Linked DNA regions of Homo sapiens: all the other regions are linked to region 1. The links are contacts of gene promoters, found by promoter capture Hi-C in blood cells and fetal thymus (Javierre and others, 2016). All regions are on one chromosome and are shown on one strand. The core of a region is centred on a gene start or on the middle of the fragment in contact, and the rest is flanking DNA. Distances in the headings are between cores, read along the strand shown. Region 1 holds the start of NOP14 (NOP14 nucleolar protein). Region 2 overlaps RNF4 (ring finger protein 4). Region 3 overlaps FAM193A (family with sequence similarity 193 member A).

Region 1 (2,987 bases), core at 194-2,693:
GGGTGGTGAACCTGAGCTGGCCCTTTAGAGACTTTCGGAGGTAAGGCAGACCTTTTGGACAAACTGAGTTGCAAGAGGCGAAGCAAGGACAACAGCCAGACTGTGCGGGACTCGAACGACAAGCCAAGAAGGTTAAGAATAACAGTATTTAGAGAACACTTGCTGTGTGCTCTATGTGCTATCTTACTTAATTCTCACAAACCACCACGAGGGGTAGGATGTATACTATCATCTCTACTTTTGAAATGAGAAAACTGAGGCTTCAGTGGTGAAGACAAATGTGTCTCTTCTAGGGAACCACACTACCTTATTCTCCCACCCCGGCCCGGGGGTGTGTAATGAGGGACTCCTATCGAAGTCAGCTGTAAGTCTATCTTGCCTATTCATTATACAGGCTGTCGTCTTCGCGCAGTAAGGATAATATGTGTTTTGATTCAAAGACCATCCAGCTTGCACACTGTGATGAACAGAGATCAGGAGCTCATGAAGGCAAGGGCAAGTCTTATTTACCTTTATCTCCCCGAACCTAGAAGCGAGGTCAAACAGAAGCGCTCGGGGTAGCAAGAAGGCTTTGTAGATATTGAAATGTGAATGCATGCCCAGCCCTTACCAGGTGCGTGACCTTAGGAAATGCACTTGTCCTTTCTGTGCCTTAATTTTTTCACCAACCTGCTAATGTATGTTCCTCAGTGAAAATTTAAAAAAAAAAAAGTTAAAAAAACTAGGAAGCAATGAGTTTCCATAGAGTTACTTCCCAAGGAACAAGGTTACGCGCTTCGGGAGAGAGCCGATGAAACATCAAACGCAGCATCCTACACAGCCCCTATCCACCGTCCCCAAACCTGCAGAGCTCAAAGTAAACGCGGAAGGGTTAACAAGCAGCTTGGTCCAGGGCGCCGCCCGAAGTGACTGACTCGGCCTGACCCGGTTGGAGGAGTCGCCGAAATAACACGAGTGCAGGGTCTCCAAGACGGCGAGAGTTTCCAGGTCACTCCAGCTCAGAGAACAGCAGAGGCTTTCGGACTATCAAGTCAGTGCCGTGTGCCTGTCACGGCCTGTGCCGCTCAACGAGGAAACCGACGCACCGAGAAGGACGCAGCCGGCCGAGAGCAGCGTGGGGTCCAGATCCTGCCTTCCGGCTCCCCGTGCGCCCCCCGCTTACCTTCCTGAGGGCCCGTGCGCGAGACACCCCGGGCAGTCCCACGTCGTGGCGCGTCTTCCGGCCCAGGATCTGGAACTTCTGCCTGTTAACTTTCACCTCGAACGGATTGGAGTTGGCCTTCGCCGGGCCCCCTCGCGCTCCCGCCGGCGCCCCGGAGGCCTTCCTTCGCGCCCCGACCTTCTTCGCCTTCGCCATGGCGCGCGCCCCGCTGCGCCCAAGGGCCCGAGACCCGAAGAGAGACAGGCGCGCGCTACCCTAAGACACGTGCCGGGCCGCGGAACCGCTTCCTCGTCTCGCGAGAACAGCGCAGCACCTCCGACTCGCGAGAAGTAAACACCGCGCCCGCAGGCTCGGCTTACTCGCCGATAGGCTCAGCGACTACAACTCCCAGCAGGCCACGCGCCGCGGCCCGCCGTGTACTCTTGGCGCAGGGCCTTCTGGGAGCTGTAGTGCCCCGGCCGCGGCGGCGAGGGGCGCTCCCTCTTCAGCTAAGCCGTTAGCGCCGAGCCCGCCCGGGAGCGGGTCGCCGGCCGCGGCGGGCGCCCCTGCCAGTGAGCCCCTGTCCGAAGTGAGCCACGGCATTGACTCGGGGCTGCCCGGGGGCAGGGCACTGAGGAGGGAGTTGCGCGCGCGAGGCGAGGGCGATGGGGCCAAGAAGAACCGGGGCGATAGCGCGGCAGCGGTGACAGCTGGGACCCGCCGCGGTCGGGCTGCCCCCTCCCCTCGCCCCGACCGCTCCCCTGCTGGTGAGGGCCTGCGGAGGCGGCGGCGGCGGCGCCCTTGGTGGCAGTGGTGGCGGCGGAGCAGCCTCCCGGGATCGTGTCCGGAGCTCGAGGAGAGGGTGGTGCCCGGCGAGCTATGCACGGGGGCGGCGGCGTCTCCTCCTGTTCCGCCTCCTCAGTCTCCTCGGTCTCGCAGAATCCGCCGGCGGCGGCGGCGCCAGGACATGGAGCTCGAGAACATCGTGGCCAACTCGCTGCTGCTGAAAGCGCGTCAAGGTGGGTGCGCGGCAGGCGCCCCCGACCCCCCCCCCAGAGAACCCCGAATCCCGGGGAACCCTGGCCCCCCTGAAGGAACCCGACATCCCCGGAGAACCCCGATTTCCCTGGAGAGCCCCGACACCTCCCACTGGGGGAACCCAGATCTGCACGGAGCCGGAGCCGGGGTCTGTGCAGTGTGGTCAGGCTGCCCGGGCCAGGTCCCAGTCCCCATCTCCTGGCCCAGATGAGAGAAGTCTGCGCTTTGCTCTTCTTAGTCTTGCCCTGTGTCCTTGTCCTGTCCTCTCGGTGTGACCTCGGTGACAGTGTTGCTTCAGGATGCGGCAGGCAGTGTCCTGCTTGTGTTGGACAACCTGTCCCACCAAAAAAGAACGGCGTCTTTATGGTCTTAAGGGGGACAAAGAATAGCAGCCTGGGAACTACTCTGGGCGAGAACCTTCCGATAATGATTGTAGGGCAATGTTATTTTTAACATAGCTGCTTGGTTTTGAGGTTTGATCTGAGGCTCTATGGTGTGTCAAGTGTGCTTTAGCACGACGTGGTCACAGATGGACAAGTTGGCAAAAATTCAGCCTTTTATCATTATTAAAGTGAGGCAGAAATTTAAAAATAGTAATAAGTACTGCATTCATTCACTCCAAGAAAAGAAAAAGCCAAGGCCCAGAATGTGGCAAGGCAAGGGTTAAAAAGAAAAGAAGAACAAGTTTTCTTTTGCTTAGCAAGCTCACTTTAAGGACAGTTATAAGATAACGCTGTTCTGTTTGAGAAGTCGAATCCAAAGGAATAGGCTCCAGACACCCCCCTTCCAGAGCAGGGGTGAAGAAAAA
Region 2 (2,987 bases), core at 182-2,681, 470 kb before region 1:
TTTAAGAATGTTAGTACAGGTCTTTGAATAAATTTTGCTTTTAAGAGAAGTTACTATTTATTTCTAATTAGATGGGGAGGAAAGTCTTTGAAGAGGAACCTCTACTTTACTTTTTACATAAGCAACCTGGTGGCTGCTGGGGAAACCCTTAAAACACTGGGCAGTAGAACTCCACTGAGGTTAGTGTCAGCTCCCTTGAGGCCAAGAGCAGCTGCTCACTTGGGAGTTTTGGCTGCTGTCGCTTGGCCTCTGGGCCCTCCTGGGGCTGGTTCTGTGCTCCTTAGTCCGTGGGAAGTTACTAGACCCAGCTTCATTTCCAAAACATCTCAAGCTGCCATTTGATAAGAGTAGCATTGGAACACAGAATCAGGCTTATCCCTGTTGCCTAGCGAGGGCTTGGCTGGATGGTGGGTGTTCCTGGATCTTGTATGAATCTCTCCTGCAATATCTGGTCCTTTCAGAGTTTCCTGGGACAGATTGACCCTAGTAAGGCTAAGGAATTGGGATAGTAGTAGCATCTTCCGTCTCTGCGCAGTACTTTACATACATGATCTCATTTAGACCTTATAACAGCTCTGCAAGGCTGGTACTGGTGAGGAACTTGAGACTTAGTAGTGCAGTACTTGTCCCAGGTTGTCCAGTGCAAAGGATAGCAGGACAGGGCACAGGGAGAAGAGCACGGAAACACCAGTGGGAATACAAGGTGACAGGCTCTGTTGGGAAGCTCTTTTTTTTTTGGGGGGGGGTGAGATGGAGATTTACTCTTGTTGCCCAGGCTGGAGTGCAATGGCACAATCTCGGCTCACCGCATCCTCCACCTCCCAGGTTCAAGTGATTCTCCTGCCTCAGCCTCCCGAGTAGCTGGGATTACAGGCATGTGCCACCACGCCCAGCTAATTTTGTATTTTTAGTAGAGACGGGTTTCACCGTGTTGCCCAGGCTGATCTTGAACTCCTGACCTCTGGTGATCCGCCTGCCTCTGCCTCCCAAAGTGCTGGGATTACAGGCCTGAGCCACTGCGCCTGGCCAGCTCTGTCTCTTGATTAAGGTGGAGGATATTCTCAGCTTGTCTTTTGGGACCAGGCAGACCAGAAATGCTGGAGCATATTGGCAAACCAGCAGCCTAAGGATTTGGAAGAAAGGCTGGTCAGAGTGTCAGTTGCTTATCAACCAGCTGAGAGCCTGAACTTTCCGGAAGACATGGCTCTTGGGTAGCCACTGGGAACAGGCTTAAAACAGCTTTGGTTCTTTGAGTTCTTTGTGGGGAGTGATTGTCTGGTGTGAATCACAGTTGATAGTGCCCTGAAAGGTTCAAGGCCACATTTCCCAGGGGAAGATAAGCTTTCCACAATGTATAGAAACTCAGAAAACTCCAAGTTCTTTATGCTAAGAAACAAAAAGGGCTCAGAAAGGCTGAACACAAAGTCAAGGAAGAGAAATTGATAACTTTTGGTTAAAGGGAAGAGTTTCCAGCCTTTTGGCCAGGGCATCCACTACCAAGTCCAAATCCTGACTTGGCCTCAAGCTTTTGTAAAGGGATGCATCGTGTCCCTTTTGACCTGCTGATAGTTTTTTTGAGATGGAGTCTCACACTGTCACCCGGGCTAGAGTACAGTGACGCGATCTCGCCTCACTGCAACCTCTGCCTCCCAGGTTCAAGTGATTCTCCTGCCTCAGCCTCTGGAGTAGCTGGGATTACAGGTGCCTGCCACCACGCCCAGCTAACTTTTGTATTTTCAGTAGTGATGAGGCTTCACCATGTTGGCCAGGCTGACCTTGAACTCCTCACCTCATGATTCGCCCACCTCAGCCTCCGAAAGTGCTGGGATTACAGGTGTGAGCCACCATGCCCAGCCGACCTGCTGATAGTTTGATAAAACAGAAGTTTTACTTTCTGGAATTTCTACTCATTTTATGTTTTGGATGGTTTCTCTCTCCGTAAGCATTCAGTATTCTTGAATCTCAAGTTTTGAAAGGAGCCCTAACTTCAAGTCTACTCGCTGGCTTCTTAATGAAGTGAACCATTTCTATTGCCCATTTAGTTCTTCCTGAAACCCTGACATTCTGGTGTTCATGTGACTCTTCTTTCCCCCTTGCTACTCAGAGAAAGCGTCGTGGTGGAGCAATAAATTCTAGACAAGCTCAGAAGCGAACTCGGGAAGCAACCTCCACCCCCGAGATCTCCTTGGAAGCAGAACCCATAGAACTCGTGGAAACTGGTAAGATTGCCAGGGACACTACAACTGTGGGGTGTTAAAGTGGAGAGAGAACACTGTACCAGGGTGAGCTAGTAGAAGGTGCTTTCAGTGTCTTTAGAAGGCCTATGCAGTCTCACACTCACCATGTACAACTCAAAGCTTCACAGATTCTGAAATAGCTTCTCAACTGGGCTAACTGTTCAACTCTGGTAATGTGCAGCAGTGGGGTAGGATCCATTTAAAAAAAAATCTAGCGCAAATGAGATAGCCCACCTTTTCTATCTGAAACTGCATCCCCAATTGCTGGACCTTGTAAAGTACTTCGCTTTCCTCTTCTGTTTTTCATTAGGACATGAAATCACCCAAGAAGGCAAACTTGTCCACAGAGCTCCCTGTGTTGGAGCTTGGTATAGGCAGAGGCCAGATTGGATTTCCCCTTCTGCCTGCTCAAGAAGTGGTTGATGGCTGGCCTAAGTCCCTTTGCTCTGCATATATTGTTTTTATAACTAGGATACCTGCAAACTGGCATTTTATTTTTACTTATTTATTTTTGAGATAGAGTCTTGCTCTGTCGCCCAAGCTAGAGTGTAGTGGTGCAGTCTCGGCTCACTGCAAGCTCCACATCCTGGGTTCACGCCATTCTCCTGCCTCAGCCTCCCAAGTAGCTGGGACTATAGGCACCCGCCACCACACCCGGCTAATTTTTTGTATTTTTAATAGAGACAGGGTTTCACCATGTTAGCCAGGATGGTCTCGATCTCCTGACCTTGTGATCCACCCGTCTCGGCC
Region 3 (2,987 bases), core at 356-2,855, 330 kb before region 1:
TGAACCCACACACAGCGAACTGAATTAGTGCACGTGCACGGACAGTGCTGTACAGAGAAAGCTCAATAAATGTCACTTGCTGTTCCCTAGTGACACTCTGTGCCCCGGATTCCCCATCCATTAGGTGGGGTGATTGTGCTTCTCACAGGTGGTTATGAGGAAGGTGACTGTGTGGTCATCTAGAGGTGGCCACCTGTGGAAGGGCTTCAGAAAAGATGCTCACTGACATCAGAGCACCCATGGGCCCTGGTGGGCAGGCCCTGGTGACCCTCTTCTCTGTGCAGGCTCTGCGAGAGGGACCCCTACCAGCTGTACCAGCGTCTGGAACAGCAAGCTCGAGAGTATGTGCTGGAGATGAAGGTCCGCCTGCTCCGGCAGCTGTCGGCTGCGGCCAAGGTGAAGGCACCATCTGGCCTGCAGGGCCCGCCGCAAGCGCACCAGTTCATCTCCCTCCTGCTTGAGGAGTACGGCGCCCTCTGCCAGGCCGCACGCTCCATCAGCACCTTCCTTGGCACTCTGGTAAGAGAGAAAACGTGTTTTTCTTTCTGTTTGGATGAGCTGAAGAGAAGCATGTGGCAAGAGGAAGCTTCTCACGCATGTGTGCCGACCTCGCTGTCACACCCCCACACACTGTGATAGGCCCCTCTTCTCTACGGGAGAGGACCTGTTTCCTCTCCTCTTTGTCTTTCCTCTGGACTTTGCCACTGGATAAAAGCATTGGGTGGATTGATAAGCAGGTGACACCTCATGGTAGTACTGTTTGGAGGACCTTGAGGCCCAGGGAACGAGGCATGGGGGCAGTGTGAGGGGAGCACTGATGTGTGCCTTTATAAGGAGACAGAGAAATCTCCGGTGTCTTACTTAGGTTGTTCATTCTTTCGTTGCTGTAGACAGAGCTGGTATTAGGTGAAATGCCCATGAAGAGCATGAAGGCTGTAGAGAACAGCTTGTTTACCGCCCAGTGGCGTTCATTCATTCATGCAGGCATGCATGCACTCAGCAAGCCAGCACTGAGTTAAGGATCTGCTTGCAGTCTCAAGACAGGCCCTATCACCATCCTTGCCAATGGGGATCTGACAGTCCTAACAAAAGAGACACACAGATGGGTCCGGTTGCCTCAAAAGAGGAATCACTACATTGGGTGGAAGGAGCATGGTATAGAAATATGGTTACAAGTAGGCTGCGGTCAATCCTCAACAGCCTCAGTGCCCCCACGCTTTGGAAGGAGACCAGAGACAAGCCCTCAAAGCTTCCTTGACTGTTACTAATAGTCTATGGAGTTTTTCATCACTTAAACTTTATTATTAAATAATACTTAACTGTATTTGGGTGCTAGTTTTGGGTGCTTTCTTTCTTTTAATAAAGAAAAGGAATTTATTTCTCATGGTTAGGAAGGCTGAGAAGTCTAAGTTTGAGGGGCCACATCTGGTGAGAGCTTTCTTGCAGGTGGGGACTTGGACTCTGAACAGAGTCCAAAGGTGGTACAGGGCATCACATGGCGAGAGGGCTGAGCATCAGTTTTGGGTGCTTTCTTAGTGGTAAACCTACATTTTGAAACAAATACAGTAAGCATTGGCCTTGGTCTTTATCTGATTCTCAAGTTGATGGACCCTCTTAGAAAAATTTACATACAGCCCGGGTGTGGTGGCTCATACCTGTAATCCTCGCACTTTGGGAAGCCAAAGTGGGAGGATCACTTGAGCCCAGGAGCTTGAGACTAGCCTAGGCAACATGGGGAGACCCCACCTATACCAAAAAAATTTAAAATTAAATTAACCAGGCGTGATGACGCATGCTACTCAAGAGGCTGTGAGGCAAGAGGATCATTTGAGCTCAGGGTTGAGGCTGTGGTGAGCCAGTGTACTCCAGCTTGGGAATAGAGTGAGATCCTATCTCAAAAAGAAAAGAAAAAATTACATACATGTAATTGTAAGTCATTTCAGGGGGTTCACAGACTTCCTCAAGCTTCACTGCGCCAAGCCATGGGGAGGTATCTATTCTGAGAAGAGGTAGCGAGGTGAATGGGTAGGGTGAGGGGTGGGGGTGGGGCAGGGGGGCAGTTATCCTGTTTCAAGGTCTGAGTCCACTGGGTAGTGCCACCAGGCTTCCTTCTGGTACCTCGTCCTTCCTCTGGCATCTCTCGCAGCACAGCCTCCCCGTCTCTACCTGAGAGTCTGCCTGCCCTTCAGAGGTTCAAATCCAGAGCCCCTCCTCTGTCTTCTACAAGAACACTGGCTCAGGTTAAGAAGGATGCTCTCCAGCCCACCTAAACCTGGTGCCCAGAGAGACTCTGGTAGTGAAGACAGCAGCTGTTGCTGCTCTCCAGAAAATGCTGGCGAGGTCTGCACCTCCTCAGATAGTTACTGTAGGATACTGTTTTATGAAGCTGACAAAAATTAATTTGAACCATATTTATTAGAGCAAATTCCTAGCAGTTGACATAGAAATAATTTCTTGTGGCTTGAGGCCGGGTGCGGTGGCTCACGCCTGTAATTCCAGCACTTTGGGAGGCCGAGGCAGGCAGATCACCTGAGGTCAGGAGTTCAAGACCAGCCTGGCCAATATGATGAAACCCCGTCTCTACTAAAAATAACAAAAATTAGCCGGGCATGGTGGCGGGCGCCTGTAGTCCCAGCTACTCGGGAGGCTGAGGCAGGAGAATCACTTGAACCCGGGAGGCAGAGGTTGCATTGAGCCAAGATTGTGCCAGTGCACTCCAGTCTGGGCAACAGAGCGAGACTCTGTCTCACACACAAAACAAAACAAAATAAAAAAGAAATAATTTCTTGTGGCTTGAAAAAAATGCATACACCCAGAAGCTGTTTGATTAGTGTCTTTTTTCACTTCCTTTACACATAGAAATACCCACATTGATTTCTAGGGGTCCAGCAGACTAGATACCCTTAACTATTCCTTCCTCCAAGGGAAACAACTGAATTTACTAGATAATAAAAAAATAAGCCAGGCGTGGTGGCTTACGGCTATAA

The links. Contacts are between HindIII fragments. The CHiCAGO score rates a contact against its expected background, and 5 or more counts as called.
Region 2: a contact is called between a fragment that was not itself captured here and the fragment with the promoter of NOP14 in region 1, in 2 of 17 cell types (naive B cells and total B cells). The highest score is 5.0, in naive B cells.
Region 3: a fragment that was not itself captured here is called in contact with the fragment with the promoter of NOP14 in region 1 in 1 of 17 cell types (naive B cells); the score reaches 5.4 in naive B cells.

Annotation. Positions count from the first base shown.
Region 1 is chr4:2,961,963-2,964,949 of GRCh38, forward strand. It overlaps NOP14 (NOP14 nucleolar protein), which reads right to left and starts at 1,444. Exons shown (of 18, transcript NM_001291978.2): 1 at 1,163-1,444. The coding sequence starts at 1,357. It overlaps GRK4 (G protein-coupled receptor kinase 4), which reads left to right and starts at 1,609. Exons shown (of 16, transcript NM_182982.3): 1 at 1,609-2,160. The coding sequence starts at 2,109. RefSeq lists enhancers at 2-71, 1,102-1,635, 1,636-2,169 and silencers at 1,632-2,061, 2,232-2,281. The HindIII fragment of the contact is 6,609 bases long and covers 1-2,987 here.
Region 2 is chr4:2,494,903-2,497,889 of GRCh38, forward strand. RNF4 (ring finger protein 4) reads left to right here. Exons shown (of 8, transcript NM_002938.5): 3 at 2,105-2,219. Among named protein-coding and RNA genes, the nearest start is that of RNF4, 27 kb to the left of the region's middle. The HindIII fragment of the contact is 184 bases long and covers 1,340-1,523 here.
Region 3 is chr4:2,630,651-2,633,637 of GRCh38, forward strand. It overlaps FAM193A (family with sequence similarity 193 member A), which reads left to right. Exons shown (of 21, transcript NM_001366318.2): 5 at 285-519. Among named protein-coding and RNA genes, the nearest start is that of FAM193A, 95 kb to the left of the region's middle. RefSeq lists enhancers at 1-343, 344-843. The HindIII fragment of the contact is 716 bases long and covers 1,248-1,963 here.